Linked DNA regions of Homo sapiens: regions 2 and 3 are each linked to region 1. The links are contacts of gene promoters, found by promoter capture Hi-C in blood cells and fetal thymus (Javierre and others, 2016). All regions are on one chromosome and are shown on one strand. Each heading gives the region's core, a stretch centred on a gene start or on the middle of the fragment in contact. The rest is flanking DNA. Distances are from core to core; before and after follow the strand shown.

Region 1 (5,160 bases), core at 49-2,548:
GCTCCCCACTTTCCTGCTGCTACTCCTTTGTCCTTGCTGCTCTGTCTCCTGGGATACCCTTCTCACTTTCCTCAGCTGATCCAAACCTGACTTTCGGAGGCCCACGTAGATTTTCCACCTTTGTAAAGTTTTCTCAAATCACTCGAGCTTCAGTAGGCCTTCTATCCTTGAACTCTTGCTTCTTGTCCTAACTTAATCTACTAAACAAGCTAGGTCAGCTTTGTGGTCAATTGCTCAGGTATTATTGCCTCCAACTGTTACGTGTACATTTTGTACCCATGATTCCTTAGTAGATCTTTCCACATTTGGTCTCAATCTTTTTCACCTGTCCCTTCTCCAAACACCTCCAACCCTGTCACATTTTCCAGCCTTGACAGTTAAAACCCCCTTTTCCACATCACTAATGCCACTCTTCCTTTCAAGATAAACGCAGGCGTCAGCTCTTGAAGGTCAACATCCCATTTCCGGGATTAGGCGCGAAGGTGCCTTCCCTCATAAGGGGCTGGAAGGATGGGAAGCATCAAGATAATCAATGCCCAGGGCACACTGATTATCTTGTGTATTAAAGCCACCGTCCCAAGTACTCGTCACCCAGTACGACCACTGTTTCCTGAACAAACTTTTCTTACTCACGTGACAGTCCCGATGCCTGCAATGCTCTTTGTTTCTTCCTTTTTATTCCAGTGAACCCACAGTCAGTCTAAAAATCTTAGGTCCCAGGTCGCTTCCTATAGGAGGCCGCCTCCAAACCCCAGGCTGAGTGCGGTCCCGGTACCCACCCCTCCAGGGGTCTCACAGTTCCCTAAGCACAGAGCATGGCACCAACTGGGGAGTCTGTCAAACAGCCCAGATGAATGTCTTTCCAAACACGCGGTGCCTGCGTTTCCAGGGACAGGGACACGTCTTATCAATTTCTATATATTACAGCTTTGTAAACATAATATTTATAAAATCAAAGCGGGAAAGCCTTGTTCCTTGCTAGAAATGAGCCTCGCAGGCCACCACCATCCGCACCGTACGACAGGCCGTCCCTCAGCTGCGGCTTCCTGCCTCAGGCAGGATGTACCAAACGTGGAAGCGGAGACGGGGAGGTCTGGGGGTGCCACGCAAGTCCCTTTCCTCCCGACACGAGTGCAGTAAAGAAAAACGGTTATGAGCGTAAAGTGACAGCCTCGGCCGATGGGAATAGGGGGAAGTCCGACACTGAGCAACGAACGCATTCCCGCGCCTCCAAAACCTAGGCCGGGGGCGCTGGAAACCCTTACCGGCACCCGGCCACCGCGGCAGACGCTTGCTCCTGCCACGCCCCCCCCCCCTCCCCCGCATCACGTGTCTGCACTCGCTTTCCTCGGATTCCCGGATGTGGGTGAGTTCATTTGCTCGCGTGCAGGGGAAGTCTGGAGAAGGCATTGTTTCAATTATTAAAAGTGTGGGGGCAGTGGGCGGAACAAACGCGCCGACTACAGAGGCTGGACGTAAGCTTAGCGGTGGCGCGCGTGCGCAGCGCCGGCCCGAGGTAACGGCGGGAAGGCTCAGGGGCGTGCTTGCGGCAACCCTGTAACCGCCGGTGCGCAAGTTGGAGGGGCAAGGGGCTGCCGTGTCCTGGTCTGGAGGCGGCCCAGGCTGCCTTGGTGATTCTGGCTTCGCGGCCTCATGGCTTGCGGCCGGTTTGCGCAACGGCCTGCGAACCACCAGGCGCGTCCCCGCCGGCTTGGGTCCGCCCCGAAGCCCAGTCCCTCGGCCTGGCCCGCTATGCCCTGCACACTGGCGGAGTCTGGCGTGGCGCAGCCCGGCGTGGGGTTCGGCCCCGCCAGGTGGTCAGCCCTTCCTCGGAGTCCAGGTGGCTGGGGGCGCTTCGGAGAGTGGCCAGGTGGGCGAGCGAGCTGCGCCCAGTACTCACCTTCCCCGGCGGACCCACCTTCCTTTTCAGCGGAGAGACCCCAGTGCGGCCTCCCTGCCAGGGCTGCTGTCTAGCTAGCGCTGTTGGGACTACTTCATTCACGGCACAAGGGGACCCGCTCATTTAGTGTGGCATGTTAAGGTTGGCAGCTTTTAAAATAGTGAGTTGGTTTAAACGGTTATGTTAGTACAAGAGGTACGGAAATGTGGCATAAATCGTGGACTGAAATTGGAGAACCCTGAACTAACGGCTCCATGCACACAAATGAGGGATAGAAAGAAATAAGGACGGTTTCTTAGGAACACTTTAATCATGGAGATACTTGAAGACAGTACATTTAGGCTTATAATGTGGTTTTTCTTACGTCCCTTACGACATCAGGAGAGTAAAGATGAGTATGATGTCAGAGACAGGTCGTCTTTTACAGTTTCAGCACCGTACGCTGATATGCACAGAGTAGTTTTCCCTGAGCCTTATGTCTGGTTAAACTTATTAAAAGAATTTATTATTTTAATAAAGCAGTATTGTAGGGTAGATGCCCTGTATTTATACAGTTCCTCAAGTGCTTGCATTTATTTTTTAGATACGAGGAAATCATAAGGATCGTTGATTAGATTTCTGTTAGCTGTAGCTTAATGATAAAGTGTATATATTTTCTTATTTGGCATGCAGTACCATTTTTAGATTGATTTTTATTTTGAGTTTGCTTTTTGACTGTGGCATTATCAGTGATCAGGGTAGTAAAAAGCTCTGAAACTAAATTAGAGTAGAGATTTATAAACAGGCACACTGCCTTTTAAAATGTATGTAGATGCAAATCTAAAAGTTGTTTGTAAAAATTGTGTATGTTGATTGTACTGATGCCATTTCCTCTCGTTAAAATGGTGGAAGACCTTTGCTTAGTCCTTTCTGTTCTAATTTATGTTGTGCTGGCAGATGGTGACAGCATCAGTAGTCCACTCTGTCATTGCTTCCTGCTTTCAAAAAATGTCAACTTGACTTGAAATTCAGCTAAAGCCAACATTGACAGAAGGTTTCAGGAACTGAATCTCCGATCTTTATGTTATTTTAGTCCGCCTCCCCGCCCCCATCAGGAGCTAGGTTTTTCAGTTTTACAGAGCCACAGTACTGTCATTACACATACACAAATTAATAAAAATTCTCTAATGTCAATATCCAGTCAGATAACGATTTCTTCAACTGTCTCTTAAATGTCTTTTTACAATTAGCTTGTTTGAACCAAAATCCCACAGGGATCTGCCTATTGTGTTTGGGTGATGCACATTTGACATCTTTTAATCTATATTTGTTCCCTCATAGTTATAGCTATGGGATTAGCCCCTATTTTTCCTTACAGTTCTAAATTTAGCAGATTGCATCGCACAGTATCCTTTAACATGTATCTCTGTTGCCTTTGTGTCCTCTAAACCAGGGGCCCCCAAACCCGGGGCCGCAGAGCAGTACCAGTCCGTGGCCTGTTAGGAACCAGGCTACAGAGCAGGAGGTGAGTGACAGGCTAGTGAGCATTACCTACCACCTGAGCTCTGCCTCCTGTCAGATCAGCCGTGAGGTTAGATTCTCCTAGGGGCACGAACCCTATTGTAAACTGCGCATGCAAGGAATCTAGGTTGCACACTTATAAGAATCTGACTAATGCCTGATGATCTGAGGTGGAATAGTTTCATCCTGAAACCATGCCCCTAACCCTGTCCATGTGTATTATTCATATTACTGAAGAAGTGGTTGGCCGGGCGCGGTGACTCACGCCTGTAATCCCAGCACTTTGGGAGGCCGAGGTGGGCATGAGGTCAGGAGTTTGAGACCAGTGTGGCCAACATAGTGAAACCCCGTCTCTACTGAAAATGCAATAAAATTAGCCGAGTGTGGTGGTGTGCGCCTGTAATCCCAGCTACTCGGGAGGCTGAGGCAGGAGAATCACGTGAATCCGGGAGGCGGAGGTTGCAGTGAGCCGAGATCACACCATTGCTCTCCAGACCAGGCAAGAGTGCAAGACTCGGTCTCAAAAAACAAAAAAAAGTGGTTTGGCCATTCCTCCCCCAAAACATTTCATATGAATTTTAACAAAAAGATATTTACAAAATGTGTTATTTCCGCCCTGTCGGTGTTGAGAAATTGTCTTCCATGAAACAGGTCCCTGGTGCCAAAAAGGTTGGGGACCACTGCTCTAAACCAGTAGTTAGATGTAGAATTGCACTGTCCGGTATTGTAGCCACCAGCCAGCAGTGGCTAGTTAATTAAAGTGAAATAAAATTAAAAATTCAGTTCCTAGGCTGGGCGCGGTGGCTCACGCCTGTAATCCCAGCACTTTGGGAGGCTGAGGTGGGTGGATCACGAGGTCAGGAGTTCGAGACCAGCCTGACCAACATGGTGAAACCCCGTCTCTACTAAAAATGAAAAATTAGCCGGGCGTGGTGGCATGCGCCTGTAATCTCAGCTACTAAGGAAGCTGAGGCAGGAGAAGGAGAATCGCTTGAACCCGGGAGGTGGAGGTTGCAGTGAGCCGAGATCACGCCACTGCACTCCAGCCTGGGTGACGGAGCGAGACTGTCTCAAAAAAAAAAAAAAAAAAAAAATTCAGTTCCTAACTTGCATTAGCCACATTTCAAGTGCTCGGTAGCTACAGATTGCCTGGTGGCTGCTTTTTGAACAGTGCAGTTATAAAATATTTTCATAATTGCAGAAAGTTGTATTGAACAGCACTGCTCTAGAAGCCTGATGAGATTTCACCCTTATATTTGTTTTTGTTTTGTTTTTTGGTGGGATAGTTGGGGGGGTTGGACAGATAATTTCATAGGTAATGCAGTATACTTCCTATTTCATTAATTATCAGGGAAGCAGTGTCTGAGTTGTTTTCTTTTTTTATGATGTTAACATTAAACATTATATTGGGTTTAGGTGTAGTTAGCTCCATCCACCCATAGTGAAATTCCCCAAGACTCTTTCACTTAGTGGTGAAGTCCTTTTGTGGGGTTATATTGCCTGTATCCGTTATTGCATTAGAGGTTGCAACGTGGTGATTATCTAATTCTATTATTTCTTCAATATTTATCAACTGAGAGTCTTTTATGAAGAACTTTCCCTTTCCAGCTGTTTGACTACCCTGAAATACAATTTGTACAGGAAAGGCAAGAAAAATGCTTAATTCTTTGCCTCTATTTTCAGACCACAGTAATGAGTTGGTGGCCTAGCAGCCTCCAAAGGTAACCATGAGGGTTTTTGCCTTTTTGTAAACCTATAAT
Region 2 (4,666 bases), core at 87-2,586, 5.2 Mb after region 1:
ATGGGCTCCAGGAGGGCAGGGCCCCTGTCTGATTTCTCTCTGAATCCTCAGAGCCAGGGTAAAGTGGGCGCCAGTTAAATGTTTCAAGAATGAACAACTAAACCAGTCATCATTTTAGAGAACAGGCTGTTTGAGAGATTCTACTCAGAACCACTTATTTGATAGAGGAAGAAACAGGACTCAAGGAGAGGGGAAGTGACTTTGCTGAGAGGCAGGCACACTGTGTTTAGTCCAGAACAACATCAAGCCTTGGATGTTTAGTGCAGAGTAACATCCAGCACCCATCACGCAGTGCTAAGTCATTTACATTCACCATTTCCATTCTCAATGGGTAGAACAATCCCATTTTACAGAGGAGAACGTTAAGGTTAAGGAACTTGCTTTCCCCCCAGCTCTCTGCAGGCCAGCCCCACCAACCCTCCTTTCCTCAAGCCACATTCTCTCCCAACAAAATGAGTTTGCTCTGTTGTTCCCCGCCCGGGAATTCTCTAAAGTTTTAGTTCCAGCAGCCTTTGTAGCTGGGGGCCCTGATAAAATCTCTCCAGCACCCTAGAATTTCAATCTTCATAGCTCTGACCACAGTTTTAACGTTCACACTTGTTTGCATAGATATCCATTTGCTGTCGGTCTCCCCCCACTGGACTGTGAGCTGCACGGGGGAGGGCACCACATTTTTTGGCCTGCTACTGTAACCCCAGCACTTAGCCCAGCAGCGGACACTGAGTGGAACACGTTAAGTATTTGTTAGACACTGTGCTTATATTTTTAACCTTTGAGTGCACGAGTGCTAAAGGTGGGATCCGAACCCACGTCTCCGGGACTCTGGTCATAGCCAAAGGGGAGCTGGGGGTTAGGTTGACACGCTGCAGCGAGAACCGCCGGCGCGCAGAGGCAGCGCGGAGCTGTCCCCCCGGTTCGCGCCACCCCGGATGGCTCCGCACTCCGCCGCCACCTGTCGCCCCAGCGGGGACTCCCAGGACTCAGTTAGGGGCCAGGAGTCACGTGGGCCCGGGCATTCAGCCGCGATCCAGGTCCTAGTGGGCTGACGAGGGGCCCACGCTGCGCTTACCTGCTATTTGCAGGGCTCAGCAACGGCGCTCGGCGAGTCTCGGGGGACTGCGGGGGACTAGGGGACCTGCTGGGCCTAGCAGGGGCTGTCGGTCAGCGCGCGGCCCGGCGCCCGAGGTCCGAGAGGGAAACGACGTTTGGTCTCGGGACTCAAGGCTGCCTCCGGCCCGGGCAGCCTCAGGTCTAGATCCCCTAGTACCTGAGCTGGAGGCGGGGCCAAGGCGAACTTGACCTTGCGCTCCCTTAGCGGCCCCGGGCAGATGGAGTCTGAGGGAAACAGATCTGCGCCCCGCCCCTTCGCTGGGGCGGGCCCTAAGGAGACCCGGCCCTGGCCCCGCCCAGGGTCCTAAGCCCCGCCCTCTCCCCTGCCCCCGCCCCCGCCCGCTGGCTCCCAACCGCCAAGGCTCTTTTGTGTTGCGTGCGTGTTTGCTTTTTTATTCTCCTGTTTTGTATTCTGTTTGTTTTGTATTTTTATTTAATTTTCTTTTAAAAAAATACATGAAAGTAACGCCCACTTACTTATTAGAAAATAAAATTATCTAGATTTGCTTATAATGAAAGCAACAGGCCACTTCTCCCTCCCATCACAGCTCTTTTTAACAATTCCTCCGTTAATTTCTTCTAGTGGTCACCCGCTTGTCGCAAAAAAAAAATAAATAAATAAAATAAAAAAATAAAAAAAGAAACTTACATAGCGATTTCTTGATTTATCCATTGACTTTCTGCCATGTTATATGAGGATCTACTCTCTTACTGCGCGGCCCCTGTTTCCTTCTGACAAATTTACACCTCTATTCTCAAGCCCTGCCCTGGTAAACGCCAGACCTCAAAGCAGGGAAGGATTTCTGGGGCCTGAAGCATACACAGTTGTGTGGGGAGAAGGAAGGGAGGGCTGCTTAAGAAAGAGAAGACAGAATTAGGGCTTGCCAGTGAACATTTATTTGGAATGAGAAAATAAATCTTAACAGAATCCTGGGGTCTTAGAGATTGGGGTCCCTATCCCCTAAAACCTTCTTAGGAAATTTAGGTCCCAAATTTGCTTCCCTAACGCAGTCTGGCTTCCTCTGCCCACCCAGAACTCTCCATAAGCCCCCAGGGCTCATGGGAGCCTTGCAGAGAGAGGCCTTGAAGGACAAGATTCACTAGATTCTGCCAATACAGTTTCCTAATGGAGTGAATTGGAGTGTGCGAAAAAGAGAGACATCAAGGATGATGTCAAGGTTTTTTGATTGCTGTACACTTAATTTCCAGCGTTTCCTAGACACAGGAACACAACCTCATCTTAGTATGGAGAGTGTTTTATAAGCCTGTCCACATCACCAGAGCCTCACGGTGCACCCATGAAGTTGGCTGGACGGGTGCACTGTCCACAGTTTTAGGAGGCCCATAAATTTGTCCCTTGTGTATTAGCACCGGGGGCATGCAACTTGCACCCAATAAGTACCCAGGTAAATGGTACTTCCCCACTCAGTCTGAAGACACAGTGTCCGTGCCCTCTCGGATCCCTTTTCTCTTACCTGTGGTGTAAAATGTGGCTCCAGAAGGTGATCTTGGACAAGTCTCTTTACTTCCCAAGCCTCACTTTCCTTTCGTATAATGGGAGGTAACAACCCCTACCGCACTGAGTTTTGGGGAGGATTAAGTGGCTTAACATCTTTGGATATTCTTTAATTGATAAGTCAGCTTATTTCCCAGCAGGGTGGGAGGCTCATGAGAAAGCTTAGGGATTTCTGAGAATCTTGTGTAGCATGTAGTACCACAGGTTGATTAGAGGCCTTCGATTAAAATCGTGGGCTGAAGAGTCATTCTGGGTCAGGGCCCTAGGCCAGGGAGGGAGAAGCTGCACACAGAGAGCAGAGAAGAGGCTGGGCAATGACTTCCTCATGCAAGGGAAGCTTTCTCTGCCTGAGGTAGTGAAGACTAAAGCTTGGTCTAGGAGGAAGCCTGGTTTCCTAGGCAAGAAAAAAGGAATGAATTAATGGCATTCACAGCAACTGGATGAGATTGGAGAGTGTTATTCTAAGTGAAGTAACTCGGGAATGGAAAACCAAACATGGTATATTCTCATAAGTGGGAGCTATGCTATGAGGATGCAAAGACATAAGAATGACACAGTGGACTTTGGGGACTCAGAGGGGAAGAATGGGAAGGGAGTGAGAGATAAAAGACTACAAATTGGGTTCAGTGTATACTGCTCGGGTGATGGGTATACCAAAATCTTACAAATCTCCTCTAAGGAACTTACTCATGTAACCAAATACCACCAGTTCCCTAATAACCTATGGAAATAAAAATATTTTTTTAAAAAAGTAGCGTCCCCTTGTGCTGGAAGGTAAGAACCTCATATAATAGCCAAGCTTTACCTAACCTAAGCGGTGAAGACGCAATGGCTGAGAAATCCATTTTGGAGAGGCAACTACCTCCTAATTTTTTAGAAGGAGGAATACCTAAATGCAAGTCTTGTATTTGCTTAAGCTCACAAAAAGACTACTGGATTATGGGTATAATGGGAATAATATTTTCAGATCTCTCCTTTATTGGTAAGTTTCATTTCTCCTGGATCCTATCTGCCATTATGGCTCAAGGAAGGTGGCCACCTAATGCCACCTCAGGAAGGAGGAAGATTTTACATAGAGGATGTCTCAGCTTGAGTGCCTCAGAACCAGATCCTGAGGTAAGAATTAATGCAAGTAGTTATTTGAGAGGTACATGGAACACCAGCAGAGTAATGAAGAAGCAATACAGGGAAGAAAAGGGGAGCTCAATAAAAGATTAAGCCAGCTACTATAATAGATGTTTAGGGCTTAATCCTAGGGGAAAACCCTAGAAAACTGTGTGAAGAGCATGCCTTGGAATCATCCCACCCAAGGCTGCAGGAGACAGGTCTCTACAGGGAAAAAAGCTGGAACTGACCACTTAGCTCATATTTTTGAACATTTAAAACATTATTTCTAGGCATAAAAATGTCATTACTAAAATGAGATCTGGCTACAGTATAACACTATTCTGCAGTTTCCTTCTATCACTTAACAGTGTGCTGATGAAGTTTCAGGAGGAACTCTTTGGGCAGTAAGCAATGTGCAGATGGCTGAGAGTCACAGTCCTGGGATGGACCTGAGGCCATTCTGGAAAGCTTGCTTGTGGATGGATTGTGATGAGGCCGTAGACTGGGGCAGCCTCTGTATTTGGATGAACCTATTCTAACCTTGACTTCTGACCTGTCGCTGAGGAAAAGCAAGCTTTGAGTGGGTAAAAGTAAAATGTAAAAGGGAGACTGGTGGACTTTTCAAATGACCAAAGAGGGCAAACTTTTCAGTCACTGCAACTACTTCAGCAGATGGGCATTTTCTTTTCTTTTCTTTGAGATGAAATTTCACTTTTGTAGCCCAGGCTGGAGGGCAGTGGCGTGCAACCTCCGCCTCCCAGGTTCAAGTGATTTTCCTGCCTCAGCTTCCCAAGTAGCTGGGATTACAAGCGCTCGCCACCACGCCCAGCTAATGTTTGTATTTTTAGAAGAGACAAGGTTTCACCATGTTGGCCAGGCTGGTCCTGACCTCAGGTGATCCACCCGCCTTGGCCTCCTAAAGTGCTGGGATTA
Region 3 (4,831 bases), core at 175-2,674, 6.5 Mb after region 1:
AAGGGTATTCAAATAGGAAGATAGGGAGTCAAATTACCTCTGTTTGCAGATGACATGATTGAATATTTAGAAAACCCCATCATCTCAGCCCAAAAACTCCTTAAGCTGATAAGCAACTTCAGCAAAGTCTCAGGATACAAAATCAATGTGCAAAAATCACAAGCATTCCTGTACACCAATAATAGACAAACAGAGAGCCAAATCATGGGCAAATTCCAATTCACAATTGCTACAAAGAGAATCAAATACCTAGGAATATAACTTACAAGGGATGTGAAGGACCTCTTCAAGGAGAACTACAAACCACTGCTCAAGGAAATAAGAGAGAACACAAACAAAGGGAAAAACATTCCATGCTCATGGATAGAAAGAATCAATATCGTGAAAATGGCCATACTGCCCAAGGTAATTAATAGATTCAATGCTATTCCCATCAAGCTACCATGGACTTTCTTCACAGAATTAGAAAAAACTTCTTTAAATTTCATATGCAACCAAAAAAGAGCCCATATAGCCAAGACAATCCTAAGAAAAAAGAACAAAGCTGGAGGCATCATGCTACCTGACTTCAAACTATACTACAAGGCTACAGTAACCAAAACAGCATGGTACTGGTACCAAAACAGATATATAGACCACTGGAACAGAACAGAGGCCTCAGAAATAACACCACACATCTACAACCATCTGATCTTTGACAAACCTGAGAAAAACAAGCAATGGGCAAAGGAGTCCCTATTTAATAAACTGCTAGCCATATGCAGAAAACTGGAACTGGACTCCTTCCTTACACCTTATACAAAAATTAACTCAAGATGGATTAAAGATTTAAATACAAGACCTAAAATCATAAAAACCCTAGAAGAAAACCTAGGCAATATCATTCAGGCATAGGCATGGGCAAAGACTTCATGAATAAAACACCAAAAGCAATGGCAACAAAAGCCAAAATTGACAAATGGGATCTCATTAAACTAAACAGCTTCTGCACAGCAGAAGAAACTATCCAGAGTGAACAGGCAACCTACAGAATGGGAGAAAATTTTTGCAATCTATCCATCTGACAAAGGGCTAATATCCAGAATCTCCAAGGAACTTAAACAAATTTATAAAAAAAAAAAAAAAAAAACCAGCTGGGCACAGTGGCTCATGCCTGTAATCCCAGTACTTTGGGAGGCTGAGGCGGGTGGATTGCCTGAGGTCAGGAGTTCAAGACCAGCCTGGCCAACACAGTGAAACCCCGTCTCTATTAAAAATACCAAAAAAAAAAAAAAATTAGCTGCGCATGGTGGCAGGCACCTCTAATCCCAGTTACTACGGAGGCTGAGGCAGGAGAACCACTTGAACCCAGGAGGTGGAGGTTGCAGTGAGCTGAGATTGCACCATTGCACTCCAGCCTGGGTAACAAGAGCAAGACTCTGTTTCAAAAAAAACAAGCAAAAACAAAAACAAAACAACAACAAAAACAATCCCATCAAAAAATGAATGAAGGATATGAACAGACACTTCTCAAAACAAGACGTTTATGTGGCCAACAAACATATGAAAAAAAGCTCATCACCACTAGTCATTAGAGAAATGCAAATGCAAACCACAATGAGATACCATCTCACGCCAGTTAGAATGGCGATCATTGAAAAGTCAGGAAACAACAGACGCTGGAGAGAAGGTGGGGAAATAGGAATGCTTTCACACTGGGTAACAGTGTGGGAGTGTAAATAAGTTCAACGATTGTGGAAGATGGTGTGGCGATTCCTCAAGGATCTAGAAATACCATTTGACCCAGCAATCCTATTACTGGGTATATACCCAGAGGTCTATAAATCATTCTACTATAAAGACACATGCACACGTATGTTTCTGGCAGCACTATTCACAATAGCAAAGACTTGGAACCAACCCAAATGCCCATCAATGTTAGACTGGATAAAGAAAATGTGGCACATACACACCATGGAATACTATGCGGCCATAAAAAAGATGAGATCATGTCCTTTGGAGGGACATGGATGACGCTGCAAACCATCATTCTCAGCAAACTAACACAAGAACAGAAAACCAAACACCCCATGTTCTCACTCATAAGTGGGAGTTGAAAAATGAGAACATATGGGTACAGGGAGGGGAACATCCACTCTGGGGCCTGTCGGGGGTTGGGGGGCAAGGGGATGGATAGCATTAGGAGAAATACCTAATGTAGACAACGAGTTAATGGGTGCAGCAAACTACCATGGCACATGTATACCTACATAACAAACCTCCACATTCTCCACATGTATCCCAGAACTTAAAGTATATTAAAAAAAAAAAAAAAAAAGGAACTGGTAACAAAGAAAATCTCAGAAAGTTTCTTACTCTTTTCAGTTAAGAGAAGGATGGAATATATGTAAATTTAAATTTATATAAACATTTTTCCTAACTAAAAAAAAAACTATGTATGAATTTCAAACTTTTTTGCACCAAAAATTCGTACTCACTTGTTATAATGTATCTGAACAAGATCTAGTTTGAGGCACTAAAAAGGATAAGACATCAGCTTGAAAACAGCCCCTATCAGAGCAGCATGAATTGAAGCAAGAAAAAACATCAAATTTATGGTCAAGATTGGGTGGAAGAATGGTGAAATCAAGGATGCTTTACAAAAGTTTGATGGGGAAAATTCCCCCAAAGAAATCTGAAGTTTACAAATGGATAACTTGTTTGCAGAAGGGATGAGACAATGTTGAAGAGGAAGCCTGCAGTGGCAGACAATCCACATCGATTTTTGAGGAAAAGATTATTCTTCGGTGTGCCCTAATTGAAGAGGACCCACAATTAACAGCACAAATAATATACAACACCATAGACATTTCAACTGGTTCTACTTACACATTTCTCACTGAAAAACTGAAGTTGAGCAAACTTTTCACCCGATGGGTGCAAAACTGTTGCACCCAGATGAGCTGCAGACAAGAGCAGGGCTTTCAATGGAAATTGTAAACAAGTGGGATCATATATTGAAACATTTCTTTGAAGAATTGTAACAGGAGATCAAACATAGCTTTCTCAGTATGATTCTGGATCAAAGCAATAGTTACCAAGAGGTGCAAGTGGTCCAGTCAAATCAAAAGTAGACTGGTCAAGAGCCGAAGTCATAGCAGCAGCTTTTTGGGATGCTCAAGGTATTTTGCCTGTTGACTTTCTGGAGGGTGGAAGAGCAATAACATCCGCTTACTATAGGAGAAAGTGAAGCAAAGCTTTAGCATAAAAACACCTACGAAATCTTCACCAGAGAGTCCTTCTCCATCAGGACAATGTTCCTGCTCATTCCTCTCTTTAAATAAGGGCATTTTTCCAGGGATTTCGATGGGAAACTATCAGGTATCCATCTTACATTCCTGACCTGGCTCCTTCTGACATATTTTTGTTTTCTAATCGTGAAAAATCTGTAAATGGCACCCATTTTTCTTCAGTTAATAACGTAAAAAAGCCTGCATTTTCATGATTAAATTCCCAGAACCCTCAATTCTTTACAGATGGACTAAAGAGCCGGTATCATCACTTACCAAACTGTCTTTAACTTGATGGAGCTTACGTTGAAAAACAAAGTTTATATTTTTAAATTTTATCTTTTAATTCCATTTCCCATGAACTTTTATTCTTTTAAAAACAAACCCAAGTATTTTAATTCTACTTGCCTTTTTTACTTATTACACACTTCGGGAGATTTTTTGCCATATGGAATCACCTCATCCCTTGTCACGATTGCATAATATTCCATAGTAGGAATGTTTCATGATTTATTTCTTCATTCCCCCACTGATTTCAATTTTCTGCAACTGCAAGCATTGTTCATAATTCTGTACTGTTTGTGAGCCTATATAGGAGTATCCGTGCACAAACCTTTTTATGCATTGTGCGAGGGTTACTCTGAGATAGACACCAAGGGAACTGCTGGGTCATAAATCCAATTTTTTCAAAGTAAATCCGCTTGCGAACCCGGAACCAAGTCGATTTTTCCCGCCCCGCCAGTTCCCTGTTCAGGAGAGTGCAGCCGTGATTGGCGCGTTCACTCAGGCCAGGGGCGCCCCAGGTCTCAGGTGCTAGGAGCGCGGTGACCTACCACCCTCCGGGCACGCGTTCTGGCCACGCCTCGCGGCCCCTTTCATTGAAAGAGCCCGTAGGGATCACGTGAAAGAACACTGCAGAGTGCGTGACGTCACGACGCTCACACCAATGGGAGCCTCTGTTTATGTCGGGAGCCATCAAATAGTCATCTTCCCCCTACCATCCCCCGCCCACTCTCCGTCGCGCTGCGCTGCGTCGCTTTCAGCCTCTGGTGAAGGGCGGCGCGCTTAGGCAGGCGGTGGCGCGGCTGGAGTGCCGCGGGGAGGGCTGTGCCGGTTGCTTTCTGCAGCCGCATCTCGGCCAGCTCTCCTCGCCGTCCCCGGGGCGCTGTGCGTCTCCAGTCCGGGACCGAAGCCGCCTGCCGTAGCGGGCGGCCAGATCCGCGTCCCGCCTCAGCGGCCGGAGGACATGCGGGAGAGAGAATGAGCCAGAGGGACACGCTGGTGCATCTGTTTGCCGGAGGGTAAGGTCCTGGCGGGGCGTGCGCACTGGGGCTGAGGGTGCTGGGGCCGAAGACGCAGGCGAGGGGGGCGAGGGGGGCCGAGGGGGGTGGGGGGGTGGGGGGGCGGGAGTGAGGCCTGGGCGGGGAGCTGCCACGGGCCTGCGGGTGAGGGGAGCGACCCAGCCCGTGGGTGGTGAGGGGGGCTCCGGTTCGGGGAAGCAAGGGGGTGAGGCCCGGGCCCGAGGGCGAGAGAGTGAGGCCCGGGCAAAGAGGGTTGAGGCA

Evidence for each region. The method cuts DNA at HindIII sites, captures the fragments that hold promoters and counts their contacts. A CHiCAGO score of 5 or more calls a contact.
Region 2: a contact is called between the fragment with the promoter of NMNAT3 here and the fragment with the promoter of ANAPC13 in region 1, in 2 of 17 cell types (naive CD8 T cells and activated CD4 T cells). The highest score is 7.7, in naive CD8 T cells.
Region 3: a contact is called between a fragment that was not itself captured here and the fragment with the promoter of ANAPC13 in region 1, in 1 of 17 cell types (non-activated CD4 T cells). The highest score is 7.8, in non-activated CD4 T cells.

The regions. Positions count from the first base shown.
Region 1 is chr3:134,484,687-134,489,846 of GRCh38, forward strand. It overlaps ANAPC13 (anaphase promoting complex subunit 13), which reads right to left and starts at 1,299. Exons shown (of 3, transcript NM_015391.4): 1 at 1,266-1,299. CEP63 (centrosomal protein 63) reads left to right here and starts at 1,371. Exons shown (of 15, transcript NM_001353108.3): 1 at 1,371-1,516. RefSeq lists enhancers at 954-1,073, 1,104-1,203, 1,284-1,393, 1,485-2,303. The HindIII fragment of the contact is 3,493 bases long and covers 1-1,478 here.
Region 2 is chr3:139,676,636-139,681,301 of GRCh38, forward strand. NMNAT3 (nicotinamide nucleotide adenylyltransferase 3) reads right to left here and starts at 1,337. Exons shown (of 7, transcript NM_001401600.1): 1 at 1,070-1,337. RefSeq lists a silencer at 1,391-1,440. The HindIII fragment of the contact is 2,876 bases long and covers 1-2,785 here.
Region 3 is chr3:140,937,526-140,942,356 of GRCh38, forward strand. It overlaps SLC25A36 (solute carrier family 25 member 36), which reads left to right and starts at 4,311. Exons shown (of 7, transcript NM_001104647.3): 1 at 4,311-4,570. The coding sequence starts at 4,530. RefSeq lists enhancers at 4,285-4,654, 4,748-4,831. The HindIII fragment of the contact is 3,620 bases long and covers 1-3,234 here.